Linked DNA regions of Homo sapiens: region 1 is linked to region 2. The links are contacts of gene promoters, found by promoter capture Hi-C in blood cells and fetal thymus (Javierre and others, 2016). All regions are on one chromosome and are shown on one strand. Each heading gives the region's core, a stretch centred on a gene start or on the middle of the fragment in contact. The rest is flanking DNA. Distances are from core to core; before and after follow the strand shown. Region 1 holds the start of MBOAT7 (membrane bound acylglycerophosphatidylinositol O-acyltransferase MBOAT7). Region 2 holds the start of VASP (vasodilator stimulated phosphoprotein).

The links. The method cuts DNA at HindIII sites, captures the fragments that hold promoters and counts their contacts. A CHiCAGO score of 5 or more calls a contact.
Region 1: a fragment that was not itself captured here is called in contact with the fragment with the promoter of VASP in region 2 in 1 of 17 cell types (total CD8 T cells); the score reaches 6.5 in total CD8 T cells.

What each region holds. Positions count from the first base shown.
Region 1 is chr19:54,189,565-54,195,398 of GRCh38, reverse strand. It overlaps MBOAT7 (membrane bound acylglycerophosphatidylinositol O-acyltransferase MBOAT7), which reads left to right and starts at 5,819. Exons shown (of 8, transcript NM_024298.5): 1 at 5,819-5,834. TSEN34 (tRNA splicing endonuclease subunit 34) reads right to left here and starts at 4,091. Exons shown (of 4, transcript NM_001077446.4): 1 at 3,792-4,091; 2 at 3,435-3,678; 3 at 3,026-3,283; 4 at 867-2,224. The coding sequence starts at 4,034. The coding sequence ends at 2,037. RefSeq lists enhancers at 2,639-3,155, 5,124-5,805, 5,806-5,834 and a silencer at 4,000-4,201. The HindIII fragment of the contact is 1,746 bases long and covers 3,712-5,457 here.
Region 2 is chr19:45,504,261-45,510,158 of GRCh38, reverse strand. It overlaps VASP (vasodilator stimulated phosphoprotein), which reads right to left and starts at 2,680. Exons shown (of 13, transcript NM_003370.4): 1 at 2,383-2,680. The coding sequence starts at 2,387. LOC107985314 (a long non-coding RNA gene) reads left to right here and starts at 2,785. Exons shown (of 2, transcript XR_007067269.1): 1 at 2,785-3,474. RefSeq lists silencers at 616-745, 1,556-1,755, 2,350-2,529, 3,210-3,339, 3,370-3,619 and enhancers at 2,680-2,949, 2,231-3,015. The HindIII fragment of the contact is 2,487 bases long and covers 1,429-3,915 here.

The sequences.
Region 1 (5,834 bases), core at 3,335-5,834, 8.7 Mb before region 2:
TTTCATTTTTTTGAGATGGAGTTTAGCTCTTGTTGCCCAGGCTGGAGTGTAGTAGTGCGATCTTGGCTCACTGCAACCTCTGCCTCCCGGATTCAAGTGATTCTCCTGCCTTAGGCTCCTGAGTAGCTAGGAGTACAGGCGCATGCCACCACGCCCGGCTAATTTTTTTTTTTGTATTTTTAGTAGAGATGGGGTTTCACCATATTGGCCAGGCTGATCTCAAACTCATCTGCCCACCTCAGCCTCCCAAAGTGCTGGGATTACAGGTGTGAGCCACCACACCTGGCCCAGTGTCATATTTTAAATTAATCTAAACTTACAGGAAATTGAGATTCTATGAAGTCTGTTTACTGGGAATGGCAAGAAAGAGGGGAGATGGGAGTCTCTCTAAACCTATTCTGGTTCCAGAGGCTGCTCAATTCACACAAAAAAGAGAAAGAATGAAACATGGGGGGAAGAAATGGAAGAACTAGAGGTGGAGACTTTCAGCCCCAGAATTTTACCATGTGGAAGTTTTTGTTTGTTTTTGTTTTTTTGAGACAGTGTCTAGCTCTGTCGCCCAGACTGGAGTGCAGTGGCGTGACCTTGGCTCACTGCAACCTCCACCTCCCAGATTCAAGTGATTCTCCTGCCTCAGCCTCCGGAGTAGCTAGGATTACAGGCGCCCGCCACCACGCCCGGCTAATTTTTGTATTTTTCATAGAGGCGGGCCATGTTGGCCAGGATGCTCTGGAACTCCTGACCTCATGATCCGCCCGCCTTGGTCTCCCAAAGTGCTGGGATTACAAGCATAAGCCACCACGCCCAGACTCACCATGTGAATGTATTACACTGACAAAATAAACGTGACAAAATAAAACTGCACATTGATAAGATAAAGGTGTAATTATTGGAATAGTGGTAGTGTTCTAGTACTTTCTTAAGCAAAAACATGGGTAAATGATTTCATAAGTGCAAATTTTTTACAAATACATGTGTTTTAGCTTTTATAAAAATTGCAGAATATAACACATCCAAAAAAGAGTCTAAAATATAAATATACAGTATCAAAAAAATTCACCACTACCCAGGCCATGAAAAAGCAGAACGCCTTCCAGAGTCCTTCCTTTCTCCCCAGGCTCTGAACTCCTAAAATTACAATACTCATTTCCTTTCATAATATATATATATATACACACACATATATATACATACATGTGTGTATATTTACATATATACACACACACATATATATATTTTTTGAGACAGGTTCTTGCTCTGTCTCCCAGGCTGGAGGGCAGTGGTGCAATCACAGCTCACAGCAGCCTCAACTTCCCAGGCTCAAGGGATCCCTGGCTAATTTTTTTTTAAATTATTTTTTGTAGAGACTGGGTATTACAATGTTGCCAGAGCTGGTCTCAAACTCCTGGGCTCAAGCGATCCCCCTGCCTTGGCCTCCAAAAGTTCTGTGGGATTACAGGTGTGGGTCATCGTGCCCAGCCTATATTTTTATTTATAACGTTTGTATGCATCTGGGAAATTTCATAGAAATCTTTTCAAAAGGAAGTTTAGTGAGGTAGAAAGAGTGCAGATTTAGGAGTCAGAAAAACCAATTTTGAAAGGCCAGGCCTGCTATTTACTAAGTGTGTGACTTTGGGCAAGTCAGTCCCCCTCCTCCAGGCCTTTTTCTCACCTGTACATGCAGATGAGACCATCCACGGGTTCCAGGACTGTCGCAAACATTCAAATCATGAACATTTATATACCAAGTTTATTGAGACCTCCTGAGACTTAAACCCTGTAGAAAACAGATGAATCAAACCCAGGCCCCATTCTCGGGAAGCTCACAGTGTGAAAATAGGTAACTACAAAAACACAGCCAATAAGTGCTTTGAAACAAGGAAGAACATAAAAAAGATGTAGTGTTCGAAAACCTGGAATCAAAAACTAACCGCGGAGAAAGGTAGGAGGATGTTCTAGACTCCCAGAGAAGAGCTGGGGAACATCCAGAAAGGCTCTTGCTGCCGACACAGCCACATCCCCTAGGTCTCTGGAGTTCACTGCAGGCTGGCCCATTGCAGGGAGGTGTAGACCACCTTACCATCAGGCTGCGGAGAACAGAGGAGCAGGGTCTTTCTGACGCTGGTTCCAAGGCGCCCAGCAGCAACCAGGTCTTGGAGTGGGATGGTGTCCTCAGGGGCCCAGCACTGAGCGATATAATGGGCGTGGAAGCGGAGGGGGTCACCTGGGGGAAGGAGAGAGGCACTGAAGCAGTGACCAATGGCAGACGGCTGGACGCCACGGGAACGACCACTGGGAGGAGATCTGAGATCATTTCAGCCATCACTATAGATACTCTAAAACAGATGCTCTTGGACACAACTATTCCACTTCTAGGCTTTTTTTTTTTTTTTGAGACAAAGTCTCGCTCTTGTCCCCCAGGCTGGAGTGCAATGGCACGATCTTGGCTCACTACAACCTCTGCCCCCTGGGTTCACATGATTCTCCTGCTTCAGCCTCCCGAGTAGCTGGAAATACAGGCACCCACCACCACGCCCAGTTAGTTTTAGTATTTTTAGTAGAGATGGGGTTTCACCATGTTGGCCAGACTGGTATCAAACTCCTGACCTCAGGTGATCCACCTGTCTTGGCCTCCCAAAGTGTTGGGATTACAGGCGTGAGCCATTGCGCCCAGCCTGATGTCTAACTACTTCTAAGTGAATCTTCTGGATCACAGTAATCATTTAATAAAAGTCGTTAAACTGCTTGCCCAATGAGTTCGGGAGCTCCCAAATGTTTCCTGTCTGTCTATGAATTTCAGAGGCTAAGAGAAAGTGAGACAAAAAAGAAAAATGCAGCTGGGCCTATAATTCCAGCACTTTGGGGGGCCGAGGTGGAAGGATTGCTTGAGCCCAGGAATAGGGACCAGCCTAAGCAACAAGAGACCCCACCTCTATTAAGACAAAAAAAAAAAAAAAGAAAAACGCAGAATACATTGGGATCGTATGGAAAGGCACAGCAACCAGAGGCCCCAACCCATACTCACCAGGATAGACCAGGAAGTCACCTCCGAACTTGCCAGCCGCACTGAGGAAGAAGCCTCGCTCCCACAGGTCTCTGTAGATACTGTAGCGCAGCTCGTGGGCAGGGCGGCCGGCGTGGGGCCAGTCTTTAGACTGGACACGCCAGTCCAGGGGCCTGGCCTTGACCGGTCGAGGCCTGGCAGTGGCCAGCTGGACAAGGAGAGCAGATCTGGGCAAGGGGGCTACCCCATTTGAGGGTCCTGCTTGGGAAGACGAGGGGCCTGGTGGGGAGTACAGAGAAGAGTTTGGTAAATTCAAGGGGTAAAGTCTTCTCACCCTCAGGGAGACCCAGGCACTGGATTCCCAGCTAAAATTCCTAAAAGATCTCTCCTCTCCTTCCCGTGGTCCCTGGACTCCACCTCCCATGCTCACCAGCTTCCTCCTGCTCTCCCGAAGCCTGGCCATCACTGGTCTCATCCTCTTTGGCAGCCTGGCTCGAGCCGGCCTCCTGGCTTGAGCTGGCCCCTGAAGCCTGTTCTAGTTTCTGCTTCTTAGCAGCCTGGCCCTCCGTAATCTTCTCCAGGAGCTCCTGACGACGGGTCTCCCGGGCCTCAGCTGCCAAGGCGCTCTGCTCCTGGAAGCTCTCCTCTTGCTGGCGCTTGAAGGATGTCAGGGCCTGAGAAGCACACTTCGCTGGAACCTCCAAGCTTATGGTCCCTTCAGAAGCCAGGAAACTTGACTCCCAGGTCCCGCTCCCACCGAACCCGAGTTCGAGCCCCGCCCCCTTACCAGGCTGTGGTGCCGAGAGTCTGGACGCGGGGCGCTGACCAGAGTCACGGCGCCGATCTCGGCCAAGAGCCGCGCCTCTTCGGGCATCAGCAGCAGCGGGAGGCCCAGGCGCGAGTTCTGGCGGGGCCCGCGGGGCAGGGCGCCTACCGTGCGGCCCCCCACACCCAGGCGCTCCCGGAGGGCCTGCACCGCCTCGGCTCCCCACACCAGGGAGCGGCCGTTCGCCACCTCCACCACCAGCATCCTCCTGCGGGAGCCGGGAGGCAAAGCAGTTACCGAAACAGCTGCGCGCCGCGGACCGCTGCAGCGCACCCAAAGCCTCCGGGGTCTCGGCGAAGCCCCGCCCCTAGGCCTCAGGGGGCGGGGCCTCGCTCAGCCGCCGTTCACCACCTGCTGGGCCCGAGCGCCAGGCCCCGCCCCCGGGCGATCCCACCAGGCCTCGCGGCCGCCGGAGACGAGACGCCGGAGACAAGCCCCCGACCCTCTCCCCTCGCCAAGCCCCCAGGGTCCCGCTCTACCCTTGTGACCCTGCGGTCGGCACCCGCTCTGTGCCCGCACTGCCGTACCTACCATTGCGCCTTGGAGCGTGAAAAACAAACCTCCGCAAGCGCGGCGACACGCCCCCTTACAAAGGTCCATTTTGGCACCACCCTCTTGCAAAGTGGGCGTCCCCCTTCGGGTGTTCCCGTCAGCGGTCAGAAGCTCTGGAGGCTAAGGCACCGCCGAGGCCACACCCTCTTCCGGACGCTCGAGCCTTCGCTCCTCCTCTTTCCGAACGACTGTGATTCGGCTTTCGGACCTCCTCGCTCTCAGACTCCCACAGTACAAAACCCTGCCCCCTCCCGAGCACAGGAAGTTCGGCGTTCGGGCGTCCTCGGCTCCACCGAATCCGCAGCCCCGCCCCCTTCTCGAACGCCAGCAATTTGACGTTCGGGTGTTCTCGGCTCGGCCGAATCCGTAGCCCCGCCTCCTCCCGGACGCAATAGGTTCGGCGTTCGGGCGTCATCGGCTCCCGGCAGCCTCGCGGCCTGTGGCCCCGCCCCCTCCGAGCGCCAGCGCACCCCAGTTGGGGAGTTCCCGCCCTACGACCGAACCCCACAGCCGAAAGCCCCGCCCCCTGGACACCCGCCGTCCACTCTCCGCTCGGGCGGGCTCACCCCAATTGGGAGCGCTCAGTCCGCCTCCTTGCCTCCCTTCAGAATGTCCCACTGTCCACCGATAGAACCAGCGAGTCACCTCATAAACAGTAATTCGCAGTCGAGGTGGAGCCACCCACTGCGCACCGCGCCACGCGCTCCTTGCTCCACCCCCTCATGCCGACACCCTCGTCAACTTCGTCATCCCGCCCCATCAGCGCCGCGGGAAGTCAGGTCCCGCCCCTCGCAGGACCGAAGCCCCGCCCTCCTCCCGCGGGGGCCACCTTGGCTCCGCCCCACTGAGCGCACCTCCCTCTGCCGCTTCCTCTCCTCTACTTGGGAACTTGAGGATCGTCATCCTGGCCCGGTCCCGTAGGCGCACGCCGGCCCTCGGGGTTCCGCCCCTTTGAGGGCAAGTCGCTTTCGCCCCGCCCCCTTGTAAATACTCATGGGTGTCTGGCGAACCTGTTGACTCCGCCTATCATCCTAGCGTCACTTGTACCCAACTATCTACGAAGTAAACCGAAGCTTGTGGCCCCACCCACATCCGGCCGAGTCTGTGGCCCCGCCCACATCGGAACAGTGACCCTAAGGACTCGACTACCTCCGAAGAAAGCCGAAACATGTGGCTCCGCCCACAGTGGCCTCAGCTCTCCGTTCTCGACTATTGCCGAAGTGAGCCGAAGTTTGTGGCCCCGCTTCCGGAGAACTCAAGCTCCCGATTGTGCCCGAAGGAACCCGAAGGGAGACCCCGCCTCATTCCTCACGCCGAGCTCCAGACCCCGCCTCCTTTCCAGAGCCCGTCTGTTCCCCTTCGGGTCCAAAGCTTTTGGCTCCTCCTTGTTCCGAGCCCGAAGGCCCGCCCCTTCACGTACTCGGAGCTCGGATCCCAGTGTGGACCTGGACT
Region 2 (5,898 bases), core at 1,431-3,930:
AAATGGTCTCTTATTTTTTAAAAATAAAAATAGCTATTATTGGAAGAAGAAAGAAATGGACCCCAGTTCTCCCCAAGTCCCTTCTGCCCTGAGATTCTAGACCTCTGCCTCGCTTCTCTGTCTTCCCAGCACCCCAGCTCCAGTCCCGGACACAGCCAACACTCAACAAATATTTGTCAAACTGGGAGAAAAAGAACTATATCTTGTAATTTTCCATCTTAACATCCTCTCTTCCAACTGCCCCCAGGACTGTCCCCAGCCAAACCAGCCAGAAATCAGAGGATCCTAGGCTCCTCCACCCCTCCAACGTTGCCTAGGAATTTCTGAGGGATCTTGGCCATGTCTTTTTCTCTTTGAGCCTCAGTTTCCCCAGCTGGGTAATAGGGGCATGGGTTTTGAATTCTGGCTGTCCTTGGAGAAGAGGCACAGCCCAGGAAGTCGGGTGTGACCACCTGCAGGGGAGACCCCCTGGAAAGGTGGGAGTGGCCTTTTGGTGGGACAGGCATCTGGTCATTTCTGCACCGCACCCCACCCCAGCACCCCCACAAGACGGGATGCTTGGCCACCACCACAGCAAGAGGTGGGCCTTGTGGGAGGGCCAGGGCTTCCAGGGCTGGTGCTGGTGGTGGTGGTGGTGGTGGGGAGGACAGGGGGCCGGCCCAGACACCGCTCCTGCCCTTTTACGGTTGCAGTGAGTGAGGCAGCACTAACTCGGACATCCGCCATCCGCCTTCCACCGAGCCTGGGACCGGAAACGCGAGGGGGGGTGGAGGGGCGGGGCTGGGGGGCAAGGGGAGAGAAGAGTCCCGGAGGAAGAGGGCGAAGGAAGAGAGCGACGCTCCCTAAACTGACCCCTCTCCAGGGCGGACTTGGAAGGGATGTTGCTATAATGGGGAGCGGATAGGCAGGAAGTCTTGAGGGTATCTGTGGGTGTCCTCCTTGCTCCAAATTTTCCAGCCATGCCTTTCACATCAGAAGGAACAAACGCGGGAGGGGGATTCTCTAGTGGTCATAAAAAGGAATGCCACGCCACTCCGATGTCAAAGGGCAGGGGTTCAGGAAATGCGGGGGATGTGGGCACCACGGGGTTAATCCCCAACCGTCCCCAGGGGCCTCCCTGCTCAGGCTGGGGGCTTTGGGGCAGGAAGTCCCAGAGAGAGTAGAGGAAGGGAGATAGTATTGTCAGGCTCTGGCCCCATGGGAGAGATTATGGGGGGCCAGGGGAGGGAAGAATAGGGGGGATGGTTGGGCCCCCCTGCCCACACTGGCCCCGCCCTCAGGTGAGCCCAGGAGTTCGGGGGAGGCCCCGGCCAGACCAAATCCCTGGGTCCCTTGGGCCGCCACCCCCAGGATTAAATTCCTGGGAAGATAGCTGGAATTATCTGGGAAGCCTGGGTCCCTAGGGAAGAGGGCTATGACCTTGAAGCTTTCCAGCTCCCCCTCCTCCAACCCCAAGGCTCCGGGTGGATAGGGGGACGGTGAGCAAAGGGGGAGGGGCCGTGGTGGGGAAGGCAGCCGGCCTACAGCGCTTGGTGCCCGCCCCCCACACCAGCTGTCTCGACAGGTGAGTCAGGAAGACAAAGGCCCCCTTCCCCCAGCTGCCGCGCCCCCTCCCTCTCCAGGGCCGCGCAGGTGGGGGAGCCGGGCCGCCCTTATGGCCGGAGGCGGGGAGCCGCCCTCTGCTCCGAGCGCCCGCTCGGTCCTAGGCACGGCCAGTTAAGCAGATTGTGTGCGGAGCGACGGGGAAGGGGGGGGTCCCACCAGACTCTGGAGGCTGCGTCCAGGTCCCTGGATCGGTTCACACCAGCCTCCTCCACAGGAAGACCTAAGTGACCCCCAAAATCCAGGGGATTAAGAAGTACCCCCGAAGTTATGGAGCGCGGTCCCACTTGGGGAGACTTTTTCCAGCACCAAGTAAACGGGGGACCTGCACACCCAGGGTCTGAGTCTCAGTCTCTCTTCCAAGTCCCAGGGTATCCCAAATCGGTCCCCCACAATCCTTCCCGGACCTCGAGCTGAAGTCTGGGGGGAGGGGGAGGAGAGTCTGAGCCCTGCCTCAATCCTGGCATCCCTGCGGGGAGTCGCTGCCAACTTTGAGGTCCTCTAAAAAAAGTCTTAACAATTCGGGAGTCCTCCGAGCGCCCCCAAATCTTGAGGGCTCCCAGGAGAACCTCACCGCCACCACCCCCCGAGCTTGGGGAGTCAGTCGTGGAGAAGTGATCGACGGTTCTGGGGCGCGTCCAAGGGGATTCAGCTCAAATCCGAGGCTCCCAAGGATCTGTCCCCAAATTCCAGCCCGGAGCTAGCTGGGGGGGAGGGGGACAAAGGCGGGGCGCGGAGCCCGCCCGGGCGGGGACGGGTCGGGGGGCAGGTCCGGCTCACCTCATGGCTGCTCGGCGGGCGGGCGGCTCGCCCACGGGCTGGCTGCTCCCGGGGCGCCCCTGGCTGGAGGTTCAGGGGTTCGGGGCTGGCTCCGGGCTCGGCTCAGGCTCCCCCAGGGTCCCGCCCCATAGAGTCCGGCTTCCTGGGGAGAATGTGGACCGGGCCGGGGCGGGTCTCCGGGCGCCGCTTCCCTCAGGCGGTCTGATGAGAGGTTCCTGCAGCAGAAAGGGGATGCAGCGTCCGCTCCCCAGCGCGCACCCCTTGCCGGTGGCGGCTACAGTGTTACTCTTACTACTGTACTTCTCTTCGTTACATTTCGTTCCAAAATTCCACTCCCCGCACCCACAATGCCCCGCGCCTTAAAGGGGCCGCGTGCGCCTCCAGGCGAGGGGGTGGAGGGCGCTTAAAAGGGCAACTCTGCACCCTCGGCTTCCGCGATCTCGCTCCTCTCCCCAATGTTGTAGCCCAGGGGTGCACCCTGGGAATCACCCCCACCTGAGGGGCAAGTTGGTGAAGGGGAAGGGGACCTCCCTTGCTTCCTAGTTCGCTCCCACTGTGGGAATTCTGAGGAGGGTCTCGGAAGGGGCGCGATTTCTTTCCCCATCGACTTCTCCATCTCGTACTCCGCTCAATTTTGGGGGTCGAGGAGGACCCTCAAGTTAAGCAAGTGGTCTCAGATTTTCTCCCTGAAATCCCATCTTCGGAACACCGCCCCTCCCCAGCGTTTCTCTTCTGTCAATTTCGGAGAGGTTACTAAGGGGGCGAGACCCCCACCCGCACGGGAGTGGAAGTCGGGGGAGTAGGGCCCAACCCCTCTCACCCCACCCCGCCCGCCCCGGGAAGGTGAGGAGGAAGTGGGCCAAGGGGGCGCGGTCGGTCGCTGACTCACAGCCGCAGGGTCGGGGGTGGGGTGGGGTGGAGGTGGGGACTGGCGAGGAGTGCGGGAGTGGGGGGCCCGGCATTCGCCCGGGGTGGGCAGGAGGCGCCGGCTTCTTTGGTGTGTAAAGCCTCCGGCCCACGCACGCCCCGCTCTGACTCAGTTTCGCCTGCGGAGGACAGCAGGATCATCCCAGCCCTCAGGAGGGCCCGGAGGTGAGGAGACCCTCCCGGGAGCCCCCGCCCCCACACGCCGGCTCCGGGCTGAGCCCAGACACCCTCTGAGGCTTCCGCAGCGTGTCTTGCCGGCCCCGCCCCGAGTGACGTCACTGATTTGGTCGCGCCCCTTGGGTAGAGCGCCACCTGGCCCGGGTGAGGCGCCCGAGCCCTGGGAAATCAGTTAGTTCCACATTTACACACGGGTAAACTGAGGCCTGGAGACAGGGAATGAATCTGGCCTATGGCCCTCTTGCCTGAGCCCCCAGAACCCGGAAAGCCACCAAGGTCTGAGTGTAAAACCAACAATTCTCAGGGCCAGCTGACTATGTGAGAGAATCCACTTTTCCAGCGTATGTCCAAGCCGAGTCCCATGTCCGGATGTTGATGTTGTCCTGACCTCCTTTACCTGGGGAGCACGTCATCCTTCCAGGCCAAGCTTTGACATTAATTCCCCTCCCCTTCTCCACCCCACTCTGGGAGACCTTGAACCCTGTTCCTCGGAGGTTATCATTGTTTCTCAGTGTGTTTCCTCAGGCTGAGTTGTCTGGGAGAATGGGTAGACTAAATTTCTTTTTTTCTTTTTTTTTTTTTGAGATGTAGTCTCTCGCTGTCACCCAGGCTGGAGGGCGCTGGCTCGATCCCCGCTTACTGCAACCTCCCCCTCCTGGGTTCAAGCAATTCTCCTGCCTCACCCTCCTAAAGTAGCTGGGATTACAGGCACGGGCCACCAAGCCCAACTAATTTTTGTATTTTTAGTAGAGATGGGATTTCACCATGTTGGCCAGGCTGGTCTCAAACTTATGACCTCAGGTGATCTGCCTGCCTCAGTCTCCCAAAGTGCTAGGATTACAGGCATGAGCCACTGCACCCAGTTGACTTAATCAATTTCTGGACCTCACTCACCCCAGCCAGGCCCGCCCGGCTCAGCAGCTCAACAAACTTACCTAGTTGAATGAGTTACCAGTTCAGTGTGACCTTGGGTAACTGTGTTCTCCTCTCTGGGTCTCAGCTTTCCCATCTGTGACATAGGAGGGGTGGCATTTCTGGGTGCCACCTACACTACAACAACAGTCAGCAAACATGGTTTTTTGTTTGTTTGTTTGTTGGAGACAGGGTCTTTGTTGCCCATGCCGGAGCGCAGTAGCATAACCAGGGCTCATTCGATCCTCTAACCTCAGCCCACTGAGTAGCTGGGACTGTAGGTCCACACCACCATGCCAGGCTAATTTTTTGTAGAGACAGGGTTTAGCTGTGTTGCCCAGGCTGGTCTCAAACTCCTGGGCTAAAGTGATCAGCCTGGCTCAGCCTCCCAAAGTGCTGGGATTGGAGGTGTGAGTCACCAGGCCCAGCCGGCAAACATTTTCTGTAAAAGTTCAAATAGGAAATATTTTAGATATGCTAGACATAGGGTCTGGTTTACACACTCTTCAGTTTTTCTTTTTTCTTACAAGGCTTAAAAACTGTAAAAAAAACTCTTCTTAGCTTAAGTGCTGTACAAAACAGGTAGCAAGACCCCTGTGTAAGAGAACGCTTGCATATGTACATAACGATCTTTACGGTAGCAGTGATGTGAGAGCAAGAAATTGGAAATAGCTTAAATGTTCATCAAGAGGACAGGGGAGGCTGGGCACAGTGGCTCACGCCTGTAATCCCAGCACTTTGGGAGGCCGAGGCGGGTGGATCACTTGAGGTCAGGAGTTCAAGACCAGCCTGGCCAACATGGTGAAACCCCGTTTCTACCAAAAACAAAAAATTAACCAGGCATGGTGGCACACACCTGTAATCCCAGCTACTTGGGTGGCTGAGGGGCTGAGGTGGGAGGATCACTTGAACCCCGGAGGCGGAGGTTGCAGTGAGCCAAGATCGTGACACTACACTCCAGCCTGGGAGACAGAGCAAGACTCCTCAAAAAAAATTAAACAAAACAAAACAAAAAAAAGATGAGGGCAGGGAATAGTGAAACCCTTGGACATCCTTTTCTGAAGCACGGAGTGAGCAGCAACTTAAGGAGGTGTGGACTGGGCAAGGTGTGTCATGCCTGTAATCCCAGTGCTTTGGTGCTTTGAGAAGCCAAGGCAGGAGGATCACTTGAGGTCAGGGAGTTTGAGACCAGCCTGGACAACATAGTGAGGCCCCATTTCTCTCTTTTTTTTTTTTTTTTTTTTGAGACAGAGTTTCATTCTTGTTTCCCAGGCTAGAGTTCAATGGCGCAATCTCGGCTCACTGCAACCTCCACCTCCTGGGTTCAAGCGATTCTCCTGCCTCAGCCTCCCAAGTAGCTGGGATTACAGGCATGCACCACCAAGCCCAGCTAATTTTTGCATTTTTTAGTAGAGATGGGGTTTCTCCATGTTGGTCAGGCTGGTCTCGAACTCCTGACCTCAGAAGATCTGCCCACCTGGGCCTCCCAAAGTGGTGGGA